2 separate regions of the Homo sapiens genome follow, and region 2 is linked to region 1. The links are contacts of gene promoters, found by promoter capture Hi-C in blood cells and fetal thymus (Javierre and others, 2016). All regions are on one chromosome and are shown on one strand. Each heading gives the region's core, a stretch centred on a gene start or on the middle of the fragment in contact. The rest is flanking DNA. Distances are from core to core; before and after follow the strand shown. Region 1 holds the start of SMARCA5 (SNF2 related chromatin remodeling ATPase 5). Region 2 holds the start of LSM6 (LSM6 homolog, U6 small nuclear RNA and mRNA degradation associated).

Evidence for each region. The method cuts DNA at HindIII sites, captures the fragments that hold promoters and counts their contacts. A CHiCAGO score of 5 or more calls a contact.
Region 2: the fragment with the promoter of LSM6 here is called in contact with the fragment with the promoter of SMARCA5 in region 1 in 1 of 17 cell types (activated CD4 T cells); the score reaches 9.1 in activated CD4 T cells.

Annotation. Positions count from the first base shown.
Region 1 is chr4:143,509,762-143,517,366 of GRCh38, forward strand. It overlaps SMARCA5 (SNF2 related chromatin remodeling ATPase 5), which reads left to right and starts at 3,941. Exons shown (of 24, transcript NM_003601.4): 1 at 3,941-4,340; 2 at 7,594-7,605. The coding sequence starts at 4,164. It overlaps SMARCA5-AS1 (SMARCA5 antisense RNA 1), which reads right to left and starts at 5,076. Exons shown (of 2, transcript NR_104027.1): 1 at 4,684-5,076; 2 at 3,711-4,464. RefSeq lists enhancers at 3,372-3,421, 3,442-3,531, 3,562-3,631, 3,662-4,031, 4,322-4,381 and 1 more. The HindIII fragment of the contact is 18,533 bases long and covers 1,346-7,605 here.
Region 2 is chr4:146,173,019-146,180,623 of GRCh38, forward strand. It overlaps LSM6 (LSM6 homolog, U6 small nuclear RNA and mRNA degradation associated), which reads left to right and starts at 2,700. Exons shown (of 4, transcript NM_007080.3): 1 at 2,700-2,793. RefSeq lists a silencer at 2,850-2,909. The HindIII fragment of the contact is 3,935 bases long and covers 1,304-5,238 here.

The DNA.
Region 1 (7,605 bases), core at 2,691-5,190:
AAGAGAGGTGTTGCATTTCTTCTTTGTCCTTGAGAAAACTTTAACTCCTTTCTGTTACCATTCAAGGACACAATGCTGAGAGAGCCCTGGCTCTTCGGCACATTTTTGTCCTCTGGCAACATCTCTTTGTTCCATTGTATTTCTGTACTGTACTTGCTGTTCTAGCACATTAAATCTAACAGAGGAAATTTTAGGTGTAAACTATGTATATACATATTGGAGATAGAACACTAACATTATTTTACACTGTAGCATTCTGTTGCTGGGAATACGACTAAAGCTCTAATCCTTTCTGGTGTTTTCTTGCTACCAAACCCCTTACCCTCCTCCTTCTTTGGTTCCTCTTCTTTCAACTAGACTCTAAACCTTAGGCTTATGATTCTCAAGGATAAGACTAACACTTGAACCCAGAACTCACTATATGTCAGGCACTGTATCATGTACCTTATACTGTCTCATTTAATTTTTATGACATCATAATATTATCTCAAAATAAAGCTAGGAAAATATAATAATAAAAAGATGAGAAAATTGATTTCAAAGAGGTTAGATAACTTGTCTGCATTCACACAGCTACTAAGTTCCAGAGCCTGCACTGGAATCTAGGCTTGCCTGCTCCCCAACCCACTCTTTTACCAACACATGAATTCTGTATTATGTGATCAATTCAACAACTAGCTGCTAGTTTTAGCCTTTTAGCAGGATTTTGTGATTTGGCCACCATATTAGTATTGCTATCTGCCTGAGGAACACAGCTAATGTCCCTGTAGCTGTTTCTAGGCTTCATGTCTTTTCTGTAGCTCTTCTCTGCTTTTCCTTTCTGGTTCTAAACTCTGCCAAAAATCTTTTTCTCTGTCACTTATGCTAGATAACTGAGTTCGAGCATTCTGTGTCCTCTTGCTAGTTTCCATCTTTTCTCTATAATTTTCCCCCGAATGATTCTAATACAGCTTTCATATGATCATATGAGAAACTCACATGTAAATGCACATGTTAAAAGACAATCGCCATTTTGGAGGCAATTTTTATTTATTTATGTGCATTGTTTTCCTTGCTATTTATTGCTTTCCTTAAATAGTTATCAGACTTAAGATCCTTTCATTTATATACCTACATATAACTTTAGGGTTTCCAGACCAAGACCCAAGATTTCTACCTAAGACTATAAAAAGTGAAGAAACATTTCGAATGCTAAATTAATGTTTTAGTCTATTTAATGTAAATATAAAAATATTATTCATCAAGTATTTATTAAGTATGTGTCAGGTTCCACCCTAGACACCACTTTCTTACCCTTCCACATAATTTTTTTTCGGTGAAAGAACATTTTTTAAAATTAAAAATAAGCTTTCTAAAAATGGGGAGATGTTGGTCAAAGGATACAAAGTTTTGGTTATACAAGATGAATAATTTCTGGAGATGTAATGCACAGCATGGTAACTATTGTTAATAATACTGTTTGCATAGTTGAAATTTGTTGAGAGTAAATCTTAAATGTTCTCACCATGCTGGCAGGCAGTAAATATAAGAGGTGATGTATATGCTTATTAGCTTGATTGCGGTAATCATTTCACAACGTGTTTATATATCAAAACATCACATTGTATGCCTTAAATATATACAATTTTGTGAATTATACCTCAGTAAAGCTGAAATTTTTTTAAAAAAAGTTTTCTTAATACAATAATAGGCAAATTCGGCAGCCTGGCACAGTGGCTGTCACCTGTAATCCCATCACTTTAAGAGACTGAGGCAGGTAGATGGCTTGAGCCCTAATTGTTGTTCAGGACCAGTATGGGCAACATGGCGATCCCTGTCTACACCCAAAAAATACAAAAATTAGCTGGGCTTGGTGGCATGCACCTGTAGTCCCAGCTACTTGGGAGGCTGAGGTGGGAGAATTGCTGGACCCCAGGAGGCTGAGGCTGCAGTGAGTCACGACTGTGACACTGCACTGCAGCCTAGGAGACAGGGCAAGCCACTGTCAAAAAACAAACAAACAAACAAACAAAAACAAAAAACCAGCAACGATCAGTTTCAATACTTTTGTAAATATGCTTCCAACTTTTATCTACATTTTTGAACTGTTAAACCAAATTTTTCAGTTAACACTTTATAAATTAACATTCTTTGGCTAGGTGCGGTGGCTCACGCCTGTAACCCCAGCACTTTAGGAGGCCTAGGCGAGCAGATCACTTGAGACCAGGAGTTTGAGACTAGCCTGGCCAAAACAGCAAAACCCTGTCTCTACTGAAAATACAAAAATTAGCCAGGCGTGGTGGTGCACGCCTGTAATTCCAGCTACTCCGGAGGCTAAGTCATGAGAATCCTTTGAACCTGGGAGTTGGAGATTGCAGTGAGCTGAGATCATGCCACCGCACTGCAGCCTGGGCGACAGAAACTGTCTGAAAACAAAACAACACAAAACAACCATTATTCTACATTAATGGTTGTTAAAGGTTAATAGTTCATTTTCTGGGTGTATGACAGTTTTAAACACCTAACTTTTAATACTGGATTCAGCCTACTGTTGTTAGCTTTTTGCAGTCATATATGAAGACTATGATGAACATCATTGTAGGTATTCATCTTTGCATATATCCTTAGACATTTCCTTATAGTCTAAGAACTAGCATTTCTAGTGGAGTGGGGACATTTTTCCAGATGTCCATTTAAGAATTATCATTCCATTAGTTAAAAAATTTGCAGGCTATATATTCAAAGGGGATCCCTTCTGTTTGGAATTCAACATAACCAGTTAGCTCAAACCTCAACTCTCGAAAAATGTGTCTCCTTTACTCAACAAACATTTAGAGAATACTGAATATGAGGAATAAAAAAAGATAAAAAAGACCCTGTACTGGGCAGGTAATCTACTGTAGTATGCAGATTCGTTATCAAACAGACTACAATGTATTTAAATTTTGTAGGCGATGAATGCACAAGGCCCTTAAGCTGCATTGAAGGCTGCCTAAGGCAGTATACAAAATCAGTGCTGAATATTTGTTAACACTTAAGGAGAATGTACGTTTTAATTTTCATGTTTGATGCTTGGGGAAAAGATTACATCGCACCACCTATCTTCCCCATATATTGATTATTCGTGTTTCTCACTTCCATGGTAGTGTGCACGTTATTTGCTTAACTTTGGCATATAAATTCAGAAGAAATATCATTTAACTCTGTGCCTAAGGAGGGTATTTAGAAATAACCGACGCAGCTAACATGAGAAGGCAAAAAAAAAAAAAAAGAAAAAAGAAAAAAATCACACTAACGGACTTTTTTTTTTTTTCTAACAACAAAAAACCGTGAGACTTCACTTGGGGTAACCATAACGTCGTCAAGGCTGTGGCGTCACGCCTCTAAGCGGATACGGCAGAAGTTTTGGGGCCAGACACAAGACTTCCAAGTTTGAATGGGCAGCGCAAAACCCAGACAAGTTTTCCGGTAGTGCCGCCAACCCCTGTCAGGCACAGAAGACACAGCGAGAACCGTGAGCCGTTACGAAAGCCTAAAACACTGAGCTCGCGTCCTGCCAAGCAGCAGGCGCACAAACCTACACCTCCGAGCGCTCCCTGGAGGTCCCGCCCACTCTTCTCTCCCGAGCCGGCTAGAGATCTGGAAGAGGGCGGGCCAAGGGTGAGGAGGGCAGTATGCGCATGCGCGCTCAGGACCCAGTCAGTGAGCCAATAAGGAATCTCGCGAGTGTTGAAAGTCGGTGGCGTAGGTCGTCGTCCTGGATGCTGGCGAGATAGATGTTATCTTCCAGAGGAAGAGGAGGAGGCGGCGAAGCGTTTTCCCAGCCTCAGTCTCTCTTTCGTTTTCCTTTTCCCTTCCCCCAACCCTCCGCCCTTCTCTAAATCAGCCGGCCTTCCTTGACCTCAGTGACCCGTCTGGCCCCGCCCACCCTCGTCGACGTGATTCCCGCCGTGAGGTAAGCGCCGGTGGAACCTAGAGCCCCGCGGAAGAGCAGAACGTTTGGGAGTGTGCAGCTCCTGGGCCCGGCTCAGGCCCGTCGCGGAGGCGCGGCGCAGGGGAGCGCTCGGGTGGGAGTCTCGCTCCTCCACCAGTTTATTGCGACGTAGCATCCAGGCCTAGGCCTCCCCGTCCATCCCCGCCGGACTCGGGCCTCTGGCAGCAGCGGGTGACGCAGACGGAACATCATGTCGTCCGCGGCCGAGCCTCCGCCACCCCCGCCTCCCGAGAGCGCGCCTTCCAAGCCCGCAGCCTCGATCGCCAGCGGCGGGAGCAACAGCAGCAACAAAGGCGGCCCCGAAGGCGTCGCGGCGCAGGCGGTTGCGTCTGCGGCCAGCGCTGGTCCCGCAGACGCCGAGATGGAGGTGAGGGCGACTTGCGGCATGGGGAGCGGGTGCAGCGGGGAGGAGGAGCTGGCTCCCTCGCCGGATCGTGGCGATCGGACGCAGAGCCGGGTTTCTCTCTCTGCACCAGACTCAGCTTCACACCCTGTGGATACGAAATGATGCTCTCACTCTTGCTCCCTTGTTCTTACCCTATTCGAGCTAAGCAAAATGGATTTCTGGCTCCTCACATTTAAATTATTTGTCTCTTTCGTGAATCCTGACAAATATTTGAACGCTCTCAGTGAACAGATGTTCTTGGTTACCGTGGCCCGGGGGACCCATCGTTTTTTTCCCACTAGACTCCCATAATTCCCTCTCCTACCTCTGAATGTGGTTTTTAGTTTCCACCAAACTTCGGGGAAGGGCGAGGAGATGACCCCTTAGGAGCGGGATGCACGGGCGGGGTGAAGGAGGCATTTAAAAGCAGCGCGTCCGAGGACTTGGGCCTCCTTTTCTTCTTCCCGGTCCTTGCAGGGGCGGTATCTGTTGTGGGCAGAAACAATGGCGAGAGCTGGATGGCCGAGTGCGCAGTGGGGATAAGCGGGGCGCAGCTGCTTCTGTGAAGGGAGAGAAGGCCCCTCCCAGGCACTATTCCACTGGAAGGGAAGCAACCAAGGCAGCAGCAGCTGTCTCGGATCCCCCGTCTAATTTAGGGGGGATGAATAAGTGTAGGAATGAATTAGAGAACCAGGCGCAGTTGGTTGGCTCTCAGTCCGGCACTTTTCTCTTTTTGGCCTCTGGCCTTAAGAAAAAAAAAAATTAGTACCACTCGCTGCCGAGACTTATGGGTTTGGGTTGGGCAGGGGATGCTGACAGTACTGAGGGGGCTGGAAAGATGGGGGAAGCTGCCAGGCGGGTAAATTGGATATGCTTCCAGGCTTTGCATCTGGGAACAAAGTAATTGCTCCTTCCAATTTTTATTTTCTTGGCCTTCGACCTGTTTTGAGATATTTTGTGAGTCGGAGCCCAAAGATTTCTGGGATTTTCCTATCCTTAGACAGAATGAAAGTAATACTGCTCCGAAGATGAGTCTTGATGCAGAATCATTATACAGTAAGAAAATGGTAGCGTAATTTACCATTGAGGCTTTTGGCACAGTAGTTATATTTGGGTAGCTGGGGTTAAGTAACATTAATGTTAGTAATCATTTAAAGAACTTTTAGTGGTGAGGGTAGGTTTAGTGACATAGGAACTCCTGATAGTTCCTGTAGTTTTGAGTGATTAAGATAAGATTACTTCCAAATTAAAATATATTCAGTGTTGCTTTTTTTTCCTTAAGGAAATGGTTCTTTTGGGTTACTAGGGCTCTTTAACTTGGATTTCTGTTCCAAGGCTTAAGGGGTTTGACACAAAGCAATTATGTGTAAATGTGCAGTTCTCTACAAAAATTGTTTATAGTTTTTCCTCAGCTTCTCAAAGGGGTCTGCCATCCAAACTTTGGAAAAATGAATGTTTCACCAGAGGTCTTATTAATATCTGAATGCAGAGTAATTTTAAGCCTAAAGCAAGTCAACATTTTTGACTTGAAGTTGCTATTTTAAATGAAAATTGATTTTAAGTTCAAACGTGAGTATAGATGTTATCACTACCGTATTAAATTAGTGATATTTTCATTTGCCAGATGGGGAAATTGAGTTCTACTAGGTAGAACCTGTAATAAAACTCGGATCTGCCTTTAAAAGTGAGCCGTTTCCCACCCATCTTGCTCTGCCATGTTCTTACCAAAAAAAACATATTTGGCGGTTCAATTTATTGAATAACATTGTTATTTTTACCTTCCTAGTATAGAAATATTAGGAATTTTATTTTTTTATCCATCTTATCACTGACACATTTTTTTTTTGGTTGACATTATAGTGTGATTTTTTTTTTTGTCTTTTAAAATGTCAGTTTCCTGTTTAACAAAATTCAGAATTACTGCAATTCATGATATAAACTAAGTTTGAGCACACATGCTTAATATATATGTCACAACTTAATCTGTTTTGCACTTGGAAAATGAATATTTTATAAATGACTTTTTCTTGTTTGGAAGTATGATCTAAGGTGTTTTTCTAAACAGAGTAAACCCAGCATTCATGAATTTTTTTTTTTTTTTTTTTTTGGTGACAAAGCTGATTTTCCCAGAAATAGCCTTCCTATGTATTCAGTTACTTTTTTTCTTTTTGCTTGATACTAATAGGTCAATGGAGCACTTGTTTTTTAGTTATCCTTTTGGCAGTGTGGAACTCTTCTGTGTTCATCCTCATCTCTATTGACTAGATTGATTAAATAGTCACCTGTATACCAATAATGTGATGTCAAGATGCCTGAAGCACATTTTATTTTTGTAGGTTGCATTTCATGGCATTTTGGAATTTTGTAAACTGGACTGGGTAGGTGGCTTTGTCACTTACATATGTAGACCAGAGATTTATGATGAACATAGGGTCACACAAGTGCCAAGGGTCTTAACAATGAAGTTAGACTTGACTTAAGGTCATTTTACCTTCTATTCCAGTACCGTACCAGATCTCCTCCCCACAACTTTTTGGTCACAGATAGTTTTATTATAGCATATATTGCCTAGCATAGATTTGTGCATCATTAATGAAGATTACTTCTGCCAATTTTTTTTAATGGATGAATAGAACTTTGCAGTGTAGAAGTTGTTTTTTGTTGCTTGTGACATATGAATGTCAGGATAAATATATTTGCAAGAATAACATTTATTACTAGTTTAGGAATCAGACTGTAGTTAGAGTATTCAATTTAGGCTGCGAGATAAAGTTTTTGTAATATTCCAGAAGGTGGAAATCAGGGTGACTAATTCTGATTTCTTTGTAGACATTTGTGTGGTAGCACAGTAGATACTGTAGTTTTATGACAAAAGGGGAACTTTTCCCCACATTTTATACTATTTAGTTTGGTTTCATGGTTATTACAGAAAAAGAGAAACAGATTGGCTTGTATTAAATGTAGTTTTCTTTTAGGATGATGAAGATAATCTTGTGTTCTAATCTTGGCAACAACCATACAGTTTATATATATGGGTTAAATACGTTGTTATCCCCATAGTATCTAATATCATTTTATCAGTTTTTCTGTTAGCTTAGATGACAGCTGTTTAAGTTTCTAGGAAGTTTGGGGTGAGAATGTATTATTTAAGATGTGTTTTGGTCAGAAATTGGTCTATAATGGTATGTTTACTATTTTCGAAGACCAATTCTATTTAATTATTTCTTTCTACCAGGAAATATTTGAT
Region 2 (7,605 bases), core at 1,450-3,949, 2.7 Mb after region 1:
TTGTCTATTTTAAGCATAATAGCTTCAAGAGAATGAAAAGACAAGCCATAAACTGGGAGAAAATATTTGTAAAACACATATCTGATAAAGAACTATTATTCAAAATATACAAAGGACTCTTAAAACTCAACAAAAAGAAAGAACAAACTGATTCAAAATTGGGCCAAAGACCTGAACAACCAAAGATATACATATGGCAAATAAGTATATAGAAAGATCCTCCATATCATATGTCACTAGGGAATTACAACTTTAAACAACTATGAGATAGTCACTAAGCAGCTATTAGACTAGTCAAAATCCAAAGGACTGGAAGCACCAAATGCCCATGAGGATGTGGAACAATGGAAACTCTCATTCACTCCTAGTGGGAATGCAAAATGGTACAGCCACATTGTAAGACAGTTTGGCAGTTTCTTACAAAACTAAACATACCCTTGCTATATGATCTAGCAGTCATACTCCTTGATATTTGCCCAAATAAGCTGAAAACTTATTTCTATACAAAAACCTGCATACACATATTCATAGCAGCTTTATTCATAACTTCCCAAACTTGGAAGCAACCAAGATGTCCTTCTGTAGGTAAATGGATAAATAAACTGTGGTACATCCAAATAATGGAATATTATTCAGAACTTAAAAGAAATGAGTTGTCAAGCCATGAAAAGGCGCAGAGGGGTCTTAAATGCATATTTCTAAGTGAAAGAAGCCAGTCTGAACAGGCTACACAGTGGGGTGGTGCAGTGTATGCACCACTAACTGTGTACGGTATGATTCCAAATATATGATATTGTGGAAAAAGGCAAAACTTTGGAGACAGAAAAAAGATCAGCGGTTGCCAGTGGGGAGGAAGGGATAAATAGGTGGAGCACAGAGAATTTTTAGGGCAGTGAAACTATTCTGTATGATACTGTAATTGTGGGTACATTTCATTATGCATTTGTCAAAACCTATAGAATGTGCAACACCAAGAGTGAACCCTAATGTAAACTTTGGCCTTTGGATGATAATGATGTGTCAGTGTAGGTTCATCAGTCCTAACAACTAAATGAAACTAAACTACATAAGTTAAACTAAAGCTTGCCAAAATATTTTTATGACTTTAAGGCTCCTTAATAAATTAATGTTTACATTCAGGGTTTTGAAGACTAGTATTCACCAAAAGTCTTGCAGTGTTTTCTTTGCATCATAAAAGATGCTGAAAGCAAAAACCTGGGAAATACGGAAAATTGCCTTGTGAGTTAGTAAAAGTCATTTATAAGCTGCTGAGGGGCTTTTGGGAACAGCCACACTTTTTATAAGCTTGTTAGCTCATGAATTAATTCAGGATGCCCACCCCGTGTGTCAAACTGGGCCCTTACCCAGCTACTCCCCTTAGAGAAGGTTGCAGCTGCTCAGCAGATGAACTAGGCCCTTAAAACTCCTCATGGCTCCCTACCCACCACACTAGTGTTAACGGCTCGATTAGGGCTCTGTAGGAAAGGGAAAGAAGTTTGAATCAAAAATTTTCTTTTTTTTTTTAATAATTTAAACAATCAGTAAGGAATGTGCAATTTGATGTCGTTTGCAAAGAAAGTTTTTAGGAACAGGGCTTTTTATCCTATTATGTTTGTTCTTTGCACGTAATTATTTGATTTAAATGGTACTTTTCTTAAAATTTTTATTTACATTGTATTTTATATTGCAAGAACTTCAAATACAGCCCTCACAATAAATCAGTAACTGTTCGGTCTTTATCCAAACTGAACTTTTATAGAAGGATATAAGGAAGTCTCTATTCTTTAACAAATCATATCCAGTTGTTTTCTGTCCCTGATATCAATCAAAAGTTCATTTCTTCTGCCTTTAACCAAAAGAAGTTTACAAGGGAGGAACTCTTTATCTTCGAAAAAAATTTTGCATCTTAGATTTTATAACACCTAATGGGGTTAAGGATCTGTGTTGAAAGATCTTATCACTCTGTGTATAGTGTTACAAATCATAAATATAATTAAAGTATAAGTTTTCAACTGATGAGAGTATATGTGGAGGGGGAAAAACGAATCAAGTCCTGGTGTAACAGTTCTCTTCTTTTTCCCTTTCAATTCCATTAATAGAAAGAGTATTGAGAATTCATGCAAAATTCCAAACCAAGTTCCCATAGTAGCACTGAAATAAGTCTGCACACCATTTCCAATAGGAACTAGTAATGTAACACAATTAATGTCATTATAATTTGGAGTTACTTGAGTGATTTTGATTATTTTTGTATCAATTAACATTGCCATGGAAACAGTCTCTTGCTAAAATGGCTTAAGTCTTCACACATTTAATCAATATCCAGAGGTAGATTTAAAGACTTGAGGTGTTTCATTTATTTATTTATTTGCTTTAAACTATTCAAGGACGTTTCTGGGTACACAATGCCGTTACTTAAACAGTAAATTCCAGTTTCCTATGACTTCAAGTTATTTTTTACACTTCTGTAAATAAATCCTGCCCAAAAGATCACTTCTAGTTTCCTGGAATTTTGTTTTTGTTTTGTATTGTATTTGTTTTGTACTCAGATTTCTGTTAGAGGAACTCCACTGCACCAATTTTGCTACTAGACAAACCAGGAATCTTGGATTTGCGCGCTTTGGTGCTGACAGGCTTTTTCGGCCCCAGCGGGCTGCCGTAGCAGAGAAGAGCACTGATTGGCTGAGGCAGAAAAGTGCCCCTGCCTCGGCGCTTTCGGTTTTGGCTGGGATCATCCGCGGCGGCCGGGCTCGTGGGGCGCCTGGAGTGAGGGTTCTGGTTCCCGCCGGCGAGGTGAGCCGCACCGCTGCGCGGGCCGACGACGGGGCCGGGCGCAGCCCCAGGTTCGGTGCCCCAGTGTTCAGTCGCGCTGTGGAGCGGCGGCTGCAGCGGCCCTAGGCCGGGCGAGGCAGCCCCGGAAAGGGCCTGCGGTGAACAGGCTGGGGCTCCGGGAAGGGACCGCTGGGTGGCGGGTCCCCGCGAAATGCCGCGTCCAAGCTCTCCGCGCATGGAATGGCTGGGAGAGGTCTGATGGTGGGCGCCGGGACCGCCCTCAGCGAGGCGCCTAGACTGCGCGGAGAGGAGCGGCACCGTCCCGGCTCCTACCGAGTTGGCGTCCGAGATCAATTCAGGTTGTTGAAGTTCCCCAGGGAGCCCCGACGCTAATCCCAAGATTCGGCGGGAAAGCGGATCCCGAACCCAGGCCTAGGCTTCGCCTGTCTTCCAGGAGGGCTTCAGGGAATTGCGAACCCTCTCCTACATCGGGGTGGCTGCGCCTGACCACAGGAATTAAAGGCTGGACTCGCCTGTCTTACCAAGTTGTCAGGTCGAGGAACCCGATTGTATGGTCTTAAGTCCTATCGCCCAAGGTTTTCTGTGCGTATGCGTGTCCGCACACCTGCATAGCAGGCATTTTTAAGGTGTGTAGGATTAAGATGATGCGGATTACCCTGCCCCACTGCTCTTAGTAATACGTGACTATTGTAGAAAATTGCAAACATAGAAGACTTTAGTGAAGAAAATAATATTCACTGAACCCTTTCACCTACGATCATTTTCTCTTGTATGTGCTAGCTTCTACTTGAACTAAGAGTGTACATGTTTAATCACTTAACAGTGTAGTTTTCCACTTCCATTTAAAAACTCTTCCTAAATATTATTCTAATTTTGTATCTTCTTTTGATTGTCCTATCATTGTGGGTCCCAGTTTAGGTCCCGTAAATTATTCAGTCATTTCCCGATTGTGGGACATTAGATTGTTTTTGAATTTTTACATCATCTTAGCATCCCAGATAGTGCTTTGATAAACTCTTTTCCCCCTATTTTTTAGATTATTTCCTTGGACTAGATTCTCAGAAGTGAAATTATCAGATTAGATGCTGTCATCTGAAAGGTCTGTTTTAGGCCTTCATACACATTGCTGCAGTGTTTTCCAAAAAAGTTTTAGAGATGTTTGGTAATTTTACTTGCTTAAATATTGTGCAGAAATCTTGAGAGGCTTGTGTTTGTGGTGTGTGTGTGTGTGTGTGTGTCACTGGCGTTAATGCGTTAGACTACCTGAATGTTAGGGCAGGAAGAGACTTAAGTGGTCATCTGGCATAACTCCCTTATATTGCAGATGAGGAACCTGGGGCCATGAGAAGTGAAATTATGAGTTATCCAAGTCACACAGCTAATTAAGTAGCAGAGCTGGGATTAGAACTCAGGTTTCCTGCCTCCCAAGTGAGTACTCTGTGCTGTATCAGGCAGTCTCTCACTGAACTGTGGCATAGTAGATACTAGAATTTAAAAATTTGTTTACATCACCTGGGTTATTCTCTCCTTTTAAAAGTGTACTAACAGATTTTAATCATCGGAGAGACCTGTAACACTGAAAAATTGGAAAGTGATCATTTTCATGGCCAAGACTAGAAATCCATTATTTAGAATGGCAACCCCTTCAAGATTTTGACAGTTGTTTTCAGGTTCCCTATATGTTAGAATAAAACACCCCTGATTAATTATAACCTACACTCCATCATTTGGTTAGAATGTAGCTTTTGGTTATCATTTGCGGTACCTTGGAGATTTCTTTAAAACTCCTCACTTTAAAACCAAAGAACAATTTTTTTTATTTTTATTTATTTTTATTTATTTTTTTATTTAGGGCTTATAGCAGAGATTGTCAACTTCCATTGACATTTTGTGCTGGGCAGTCCTTTGTTGTGGAGGGCCGTCCTGTTAGTTGTAAAATGTTTAGCAACATCCCTGGTCTCTACCCACTAGGATAGCAGTAGCACCACCTTCCTCAGTCATGACAGTTCAGTGTCCCCAGATATTTCCAAGTGTCCCTGAGCAGGGTGGGGCAGGGTTGGGGGTACTGCCCCTAGATGAGAACCATTTGCTTATAGAAATTATCTGGAGAACTTTATAAAATGTAAAATACAGTGCCTTTACCTGAGTAGACTTCGGGAAAATCTGCATTTTAACAAGCATCTCTAGATTTGGAAACAGCTGGTTCTTGAATGACACAAACAGTTGTTTTCTCAGTTTTTGGTGCTCATAATAGAGATTACTTGGTTAGTATTTGTTGAAGTACATGCATGATCCTACTGGTCACTGTATCCATAGTTTGGGCTGATGGGGGCTGGACAGGGATTTTGCTTGGCACTGGCCTTGAATGTCTCTTCCACAGACTTGGGTAGTGTGCTTAGGTACCAGGGACACCAAGTGAGTAAGATATTTTCCCTGTCCCCAAGAAGCTTTAAATTCGCACGGGAGACCAGTCAGCAAATGGAAAAATTACGAAACAGCCTGATAAGGGCCATGACTGAGAGTGGAAAGAGGTGCTCTGAGTGGACTCACTTCGCCTTTGGGAGAGAGGGAGAGAAGTAGCCCCTGCTGCCGAGGAAGGAGGGATTGGTATGAAGCCTTCAAAAGACAGCGAGGAACTCCACTGTGTCCGAAGGGAGGATTTAGAGAGCTGTTCTTCTGCCTATCTGATCGCCTCCTCAGACACTGATCTATTAGTCTAGTGCTGCAATTACTTGGATTGTAATGTTTCCTTGCAATTTTTGCTTTTCAAATTCTTTTCACCCTAAACTGTAAATACGCCAGGAGTAGGTAAAAACTTACAGGTAAACATTGCCAAGAAATAAGGATTTTCATGTCTTCTGCTCAGTGGCATAACTCAAATCACATGAGATAGATTTCTTTGCATCTGTCCATTGTATTTCTCTGAGGCTAATTTACAGCACTTTGTCACGTTAGGTATTTTTTTTCCCCAGTGCTGCTACTCTCCAACTGGATTTCTCACCGCCTCTATTGCGATTCCCCAAGATTTAACCAGAGAATCTTAACATATTCAGAAGGGCAGCTGTACCTGTGAAAGGGCTTGGGCTTTGGGGTCAGCCTTGGCTTTGCTTTCCACCTCACAGGGTTTCTCTGTAAATTGCTTATGAATCTAACTCTGGTAGCACATAGTTGGGTTAATAAAAGTTCTTTTTTTTCTTCATTCTTTTACCAAAAAGAAAAAAATTCCCTGCAGGGCACTTTGCAGATGTTTTCATACTAGACCTCTCAGTAGCTTCTGACAGAAAATATACTGCCTTTGACTTAATAGTCATTTATGAAAATAGGTCATTTAAAACAAGCCTGAGTAGGAGTCAGGGGAGGGAGAGGAGGTATAGAGAGTGATTATGACTTTAATTTTGAAAGGAGAAGTTTTACCAGGGTGACCCTGAAGAAAGGTCTTTTTCCTCTTATGTGTTTATGGTTCAAGAGACTCATCTCTTGCTTCAGAAATTGTCAGAACTGTTTCTTCTGCTTTATCCAATTTAAAAGATGAAAACTTAAAATTACTTGAGCCAAGTGATGGGAAAAATTGTGGTGTCAAGACCAATTTACTCATACAAAATGGATTTATGGGCAAGTCATTAAGTAACAGGGAGTAGCAAGGAAGCCTAATGAAGACTAATGTAAAAGATACGGCTTTCCTAAAGTGATGGATAAAATGTGTTTGAGGCAACCCATATACTCTTTTCCAAATAACCTTAGAAGTATTTTTTTTCCAAGAGGTTTAGTAGAATGTAGATATTCTAGAGAACAGATGAGAAGCTTGTGAGCCCCTCTTGTCATGTGGCTTACAGTATTTTGAGGGAGAAAAGACCCACATAAAGAATACAAAAGAGGGCATAGTGACAGGTTATAGCAAATAAAATCAAATGCCAAACTATGTGATGCCAAAAGTAGGTGAGATGGGCATCTGCACTCTGCTATGGAAAGTAGAGAGTGGAACCCAAGCAAGTTCCTGCTTAAAACCCCTGTTTCCTATCATTGACAACAGTATTTCCCCTTGCCAGTTATTTCCTAGGCTTGTTCAAATAGATTGCTGGCTCCTACCCCAGAACTACTGAGTAGAATCTCCAGCTGATCCTAATGATTCAAGTTTGGGAAACTGACCCAGAGCCTCAACTCTGTGCTCCCTGTGAATGTGGCACAGCTCCCTGCCGCAGAGGCGTCTCCTCCTTGCCTATGTAGATTTTACGTTCTACCCAGACACTTGTTCCGTGCCTTTTCTGACTTCTCTTCTTTCAGCTAGGGGGTGACGCCTTTTCCTTCAAATTCAGCTCAGGTGTTAACTTCCAGAAATTCTTTGATCTGCCAAGCCTGGGGTAAGAGAGTGTTCTCTGCCCTTTTGTGCATAATTCTATCAGAATACACATCACCTTTGTAAAATTCTGCATTTACATGTTTCTTGCCCTCTCTGGAATGTAAACTCTGAGGGCTTAAGGCCTTGTCTTTGTGTTACATTCCCCAACCCTGTGCGCCTGAACTTGACAGGTGCTCCGTGAAAGTTGGAAGTGTTGATTGCCTTCAGGAAGAGATTGATGTTAATTGGAATACAGATAAAGCATAATGGACAAGGCGTTATCTTTGGTGAGCTTAGAAGAACATATCTGTGTTTATAAAAAGGTGTGGAAAGTTAATATTAATAATACTTTTAAAATAACCTATACTGTCAAGCAACTGATAGTCAAGATTTGCATTCTTTTTTCTGACAGTTATTAACTCTTTCCAGCTTTTGCTTTTCAAATGTTTTTAATCTGAAACTGTAAATACTCTATG